Regions from separate parts of the Homo sapiens genome. Here region 1 is linked to region 2. The links are contacts of gene promoters, found by promoter capture Hi-C in blood cells and fetal thymus (Javierre and others, 2016). All regions are on one chromosome and are shown on one strand. Each heading gives the region's core, a stretch centred on a gene start or on the middle of the fragment in contact. The rest is flanking DNA. Distances are from core to core; before and after follow the strand shown. Region 1 overlaps TMEM163 (transmembrane protein 163). Region 2 holds the start of TMEM163 (transmembrane protein 163).

Evidence for each region. Contacts are between HindIII fragments. The CHiCAGO score rates a contact against its expected background, and 5 or more counts as called.
Region 1: a contact is called between a fragment that was not itself captured here and the fragment with the promoter of TMEM163 in region 2, in 4 of 17 cell types (megakaryocytes, M0 macrophages, M1 macrophages and 1 more). The highest score is 16.2, in megakaryocytes.

The regions. Positions count from the first base shown.
Region 1 is chr2:134,456,727-134,459,724 of GRCh38, forward strand. TMEM163 (transmembrane protein 163) reads right to left here. Exons shown (of 8, transcript NM_030923.5): 7 at 1,306-1,447; 8 at 1-50. Among named protein-coding and RNA genes, the nearest start is that of MGAT5, 200 kb to the left of the region's middle. The HindIII fragment of the contact is 4,333 bases long and covers 1-2,998 here.
Region 2 is chr2:134,717,279-134,720,253 of GRCh38, forward strand. It overlaps TMEM163 (transmembrane protein 163), which reads right to left and starts at 1,722. Exons shown (of 8, transcript NM_030923.5): 1 at 1,456-1,722. The coding sequence starts at 1,657. It overlaps LOC105373629 (a long non-coding RNA gene), which reads left to right and starts at 834. Exons shown (of 2, transcript XR_923354.4): 1 at 834-1,289. RefSeq lists a silencer at 1,806-2,045. The HindIII fragment of the contact is 5,110 bases long and covers 1-2,975 here.

The DNA.
Region 1 (2,998 bases), core at 311-2,810, 260 kb before region 2:
TCTCGTAGTGACGTGTCTGCCTCACCCTCGGCACCATGTCGATGAGGAGTCTGCAAAGACGAAGACAGACAAGGTCACCTCCATGGCATGGGGCTGAAGAGCTTGGGGAAGCGTATTTTCATTTTTTTTTTCCTGAGATAATTCACATACCATAAAATTCACCCTATGTGGCTCGGTGGTTTTTAGTATATTCATCCATTTGTGTTATCTCAGAAACCCCATGTCCACTGTACCATTCACTCCCCATCCTCCCCACGCCTGACGAGAAGTACCCTCCTTCTGGCCTCTATGGATTTGCCTATTGATATTTTATATAAACAAAATCACATAACGTGGCCTTTTGTGACTTCCTTCATAATATTTGAGGTCCATCTATGTTGGAGCGAGTATTAGCACTTCATTCCTTTTTGGGGGCTGAATAAGTGTCCACTGCACAGATCTACCACATTTATCCATTCATCTGTTAATGGACAATTGTGTTGCTTCTGCGTTTTGCCTATTGTGAATAACTCTGCTGTGAATTTCACAGACAACTTTCAGTGTGGAGGTTTGTTTCCATCCTCCCGCAGTGTATACCAAGGACTGGAAGTGCTGGGGCGAATGGTAACTCTGCGTCCATGGCAGCACCATCGTCCATTCCCACAGCCATGGATGAGGGTTCCACTTTCGCCACGTCCTCACTGACGCTGGCAGTTGTCCCTCTTTTTGATGATAGCCATCCTACCTTTCCTTGAGAATGGAAGCATTTTAACATTTAAAAGCAGAGCACCCTTTAGAAATGGTTCTCTGAAAGGCCAGCTCCAGCCTGGGTGCTGAAGTCCATGTCAGTGATGCCAGCACGGCCTTTCTGCACTGACTAGTCCCCTTTTGCAAGAAGTTCTCTAAGGCTAGGGATGCGGCCTCTGGCCAGCACACTGTTGCATCCCCCATTTGTGGCAGGAGGGGCTCCACTTGTGAGGAAACCACGCAAAGGTGCTTCCCTGGGGCATCATGAAGACTGTCAGAGAGGAAGGAGCATAGATGTCAGGACACGAAGGGTCCTAAAGGCATCAGATGGAAATCAAGGAGTGCCTTTGTGGCTTAAAGGCCTGATACCTCTTGTCCCTGCCTCACTTCTGTGCCAGCCCCAAGGATATCTGACCCCTGCTGGGTGCTTTTCCAGTCACCTGACACTGGTCAGGCTCAGGAGGGGCACAGGTACAAAATATGACCTTCAGAAGCCTGTCATTTCCTGACTGGGGAAGGCGGTGGAAAAGGGACACTCCTAGCTGCCAGGAAAGCAAACAGGAAAGCACAAGAACCTACTTGACCCCATAGGCAAATATGGTGAGGCCGATCAGAACGCCTATGCTGCCGTCCAGGTACCAGACCGCCGAGTCATGCTTGAACACTTCCGCGCTCAGAAGAATGGAGAAGCCCATCACGCCACCCACGAGGGAGTTAAACCCTGCAAAGGAAGTGGAGAGAGGCTAGATGGCAGTGCCAAGCAATCCAAGAAAATCACCCAAATGCCAGTCCTGCCTCCACGTAACTGGAGCATGTGCTGGGAGGAATGATGCCCAAAGCTCTCACGAGTGATAGCCACCACCTGGGCCCATCAAGTCTCTGCTCAAATGTCACCAGATACCTCCCAGAATAGAGCCGTCACCCCCACCATCATTCTGTACCTGCTTTATTTCTCTTCTGGGAACTGACGCCATATGTGGTTTATAGCTGGTCTCGCCCGTGCCCGCTAGAACGCAAACCTCCTAGAGGCAGGGGTGTGGTTTTCTGTTGAGTCCACAGTCCCCAGGACAGTTCCAGGCTCACAGTAGACATTCAAATACTTGGGGACTCATATCTGAGTGTCTGCTGGGCCAGATTCCGAGTTGGGTGTTCAGGACGTGTGGTTACCTATAACCTTTCTCAATCGTGTGACGTCACATTATCATCATCATCCCTGCTTTCCGATGAGAAAACTAAGAATGAGGTTAAATACATTGATGGAGGTTATCCAGATTGAGAAGGGCATTCTATCCCAACCTGCATCCTTTCCCTCCCGAGTCTCCTCTAAGTAACCTGAGGTTTTTTCCTTTCCCTCCAGAAGAGAAATGTAAAGTCTATTATGCTAAGTTTTTTGCAAAGTATTGGCTACATGGTTGGAGAAATGGCCATAAAAACAGAACTGGAGCTACTAGATAGTGACTGCCATCTCCTTTCACACAGCAGCCCACTGGGGCTCCCAGCTTACATGTGATACTTCTACTTTACCAGAGCTGTCAAAGGCCACATGGGAAGGGAAGGGAATGGCTTAAGGTAGCTTCTAGGGTCTCCCCGCGAAGGACACCAGCTCCTCCCCTGCCCCAACACACTGGTGGCCCCAAGAGAAGCTCCAGGTCCACGCTGCCCAAGGAGGCCCTGCTGGTAGGTTTGTGCAGGCCCGTAACCTCCCACGCCAGGCCTGGCTTCCCCTGGGGCAGAGGAAGATTGCCAGGCAGGGATGACCTGAGCAAATCTACTCAGGATCCAAGGCAGGGATGCAATGGCCGCTCACAGGAATGGAAGATGAACCGCGGACCTGCAAGGGCACCCCAGGGACTGGCCTGGACCCTACAACGCACTTGGTGGCACGCCCTTCTCTCCCCTGTGCTCAGGACACCGAGGTTTGGTCGAGGATACCTCATATTCCCCACACCACATCCACCACCCACCTGTAACTGTTCCTGTAACAGGAACAAGGGCTGGTTCTTGCGATGTTCCTCCCTCCCTCCTTCCCAGATTGGATTGGATTGCTCCTACTGGGATTAACCCACCTTCCCATCCCCAGTGAACTCTTCTTCCACCCCACGCCTCCCCCATCTGCTACTGGCCTTCACAAAACCCGCAGAAGAGTCTGCCTGCTGCCTCCACACTCACACCCCCCTTCTGCCCGGGTTCCCTCCTCCCCCAGCCCTTCCCAAAGTCAAAGTCATCCTCATCCTGCTACCTGCAGTGGTGACAGGCCCCCTTTTGGTGGGGG
Region 2 (2,975 bases), core at 472-2,971:
AAAGGTAATGAACACATCCTATAATAAAAGTGAGAGGTTTTGTTCCATGCTCGTGATGTCCCCTGTCCTCACCTCTTAAATGGCATCTAGTTATGTGAGAACAGGGGGAGAAACTGCAACAGAGGTGCAGAATTCGTTGCCACTGGAGCAGCTCCAGTTCTCGCTGAGCATCTAGGCGGATTCTCTGGGAACTGCCGTTTCCATGTCATTTTATTTCACATGCTACAGTTTAGAATTTCTAAGGAGAAAGAGATCGTGCATCCGAACACTAAACCGGAATAAAAATGTACAGGAGATACTAAGAATAGGACAGAAACCTGCTAAGTCTAAAATATATAAACCCGCCATAGCCAACAAAATAAGGCTTCCAAGAAAAGGGGGTGGAGGTGCAAAAGAGCCGGCTTCCCCTAAAGGGCCTGGCTGCAAGAATCCCTCTTTGGCCACTAAACGGTTTTAGCAGAACCACAGATTCGTTCTGAGGGGGACAATTTGGATTCGGATTCAGCAAGAAGTAGAAAAGGTGCAGACGCGGCCAAGAACAGGGCTCCCTCTGCAAAGAATCCAAGCCCAAAGGAAACGCGGAAGGGATGGAGAAGAGAGACGCGGGAACGAGCAGGGAGTCTCTCCCGTCCTACACTGGCGACTCAAGGGGGCATCGGCAGTCGGTGGGAGGCAGAGTGTGGTCTCCCAGCAGAGGCAAGTGTGCTGACCTCCAGGCCAGTGTCAGTGGAGGGGAGCTCTGAAGGGTCTGCAGACGCGCCCTCCGGAAACATCAGGTTTCAGTGGCATCCATCCAGATGAGGTTGGTGGCCCAAATCCAAATGTCCCATTCCTCTGCCCCATCATGAGACGACGGGGCAGGGACCCACTGTGACCCGCGTCCGCGATTAGAATCGGGGACTGCCCGAGACCAGAGGCCGCCCGAGTCCCGGCTCGCTCCCCTCCTTGCGCCCTTCGCCGGGGCGGGCAGCCGGGCGGCCGCCGAGGGACATCTCGCGGCTACACCCGCAGAGGGAAGTTCTCCCAGGCAGCCGGCGGAGCCGCAGGGGACTACGGAAAGGAGGATGCAACGAGCCTGGGTCCCTCCGAGCTGAGTAGGGCCCGGAGTGGCCCAGAAGCGCTCGACTCCGAACGCAAAAAATGCCTCCCGCAAACTTTTCCCGTGGGCGCCGGAGGGCCTGGAGCTGGCGGAGAGGAGGGCGCGAGTCCAGGCGGGGTCGGCCTGAAGGCAGCTGGGGTCTGGGCTTCGAGGGAAGGAACCGCAGCCGAGGCGGTGCCGGCCGCAGAAGGTGGGGCTGCCGCTCTCGGCTAGCGGCGTTCTCGCCGGGAAGTCGGGGCTCCGCGCCCCCGCGCGCTCCGAGCCCCGCGCCTCGCCCAGCGCGGCCCGCGAGTGGGGAGAGGCGGGCCCCGAGCAGCCACCCCGGTCGCCGGCCGGGTCGGGCAGCTCGCGCTCACCTCGGTCCTCCAGCCCGTCGCTGAACTGGCCGCTCTCGCTGATCCGCACCTGCCGCTCCTCCTCCAGCTGGGGCGGCTCGCGCACCGGGGAGCTCAGCGGGGCCGGGCCGGGGGCGGCAGCCGGTGGCGCGTGGCCCCGGGGCGGCGGCGGGACGGTGGGCCCCTGGGAGCTGCGGCGCTGGATGCCCGCGGCCGGCTCCATGGCGCGGGGCTGCGGATCCCGGCGGCGGCGACGACAAGCGCGGCGGGGACTCGAGTCAGAAGTGCGAGGCGCCGCGGCTCTGGCGGGGGCAGGAGCGGACGGACTGGCCGCGTGGACAGGGAGGGAGGGCGGGCGGGCGCCGCGGAGTGGAGGTGCACGGGCGGGGGCGGGGACGAGCGGAGAGCCGCTCGGCTCCGCGGCCGGTGGCGGAGGCTGGGGCCGCGTTGTTGCCGCCGCGCTCCGCCCCTGGGGGCAGGTGCGGGCGGCAGGGACCCGCCCCAAGGCCCGGGCGCGGGAGCCGGCGCACCGAGGCGGACGAGAGGGAGGAACCAGCGTGAGGACCCACAGGCGGCCCTGGCAGAGCTTGGCTAGGGCGTAGCGGGGACCCGCCCCACCTGCGCCGCGGGATGGTGCCCAGAGGGGACCCCTCCCACTGGATTCCTCTGGGGTCCGCGAAGCCCGCGGCCGCGCGTGGGTAGCAGACAGCGCCCCTAATTTGGCATCTTTCTCTTCTGGAGCTGCACAGGCTTCAGAGGCTGTACAGGGTCTTCGCCTGGGCCTCCATTCTCACTGCTCATCCAGGGAAAAAGGGTTCATCTGTCCCCAAGCCCGTCGCTCTCCGTCCTTCTCGGAGCTTTAACTCCCCTCCCAGTTTCTCCCTGGAGCACCCATTTAGCCAGGGATGGGGTATCTTTAGGACAGCGGGCGCTATAGAAGATGCTTGAACTCCGAGGCTTCCCCATTTCGACTCTTCCTGGGCCTTTGTCCCATACAGTTCGCTCCCCTGCTCATCTAAGTCTTGTGTGATCTTCAGAAATCCATGGAAGCCTCCCTTCTACGAGAAGTCTCCCCTACTCTGACCCCTGCAGCTCTTAATTCATTTTGTGCGGTGGGGCTGATCTCACCAGTGAGAGTCCACCGCAGGGCACACGCCAGCTCTCTTGATGCCCAGAGAGGAGCAAAAGAGGACCTGCTGTTTAATAAATTCAGCTTGGATTTGTTGAGGCTCAGAAAAGTATACCCCAACGTATGGCACTTTGGTATGCTAAGTTTGAACTAAAAAACTAAACAGGCCTCTGAAGCCGCCTTAGAAACAAAGTCTGTCTCCCCCCCGACTTTCTCCCCACTAAGCAGTTCACAGAAACCAGAATTCCTCTTCCCTACGGTGGTCATACAACCTAGAAATAGTACTCCAACCTCCCTGGTCCTCTGCCTTTCTGTGTAGGAGCTGGCCATGAAGAAATACTCAGACCTACCTTGTCTGATAGTAGATCCTGAGACCCTCATTCCAGAAGAGGTCCTGCTCTATACATGCTGC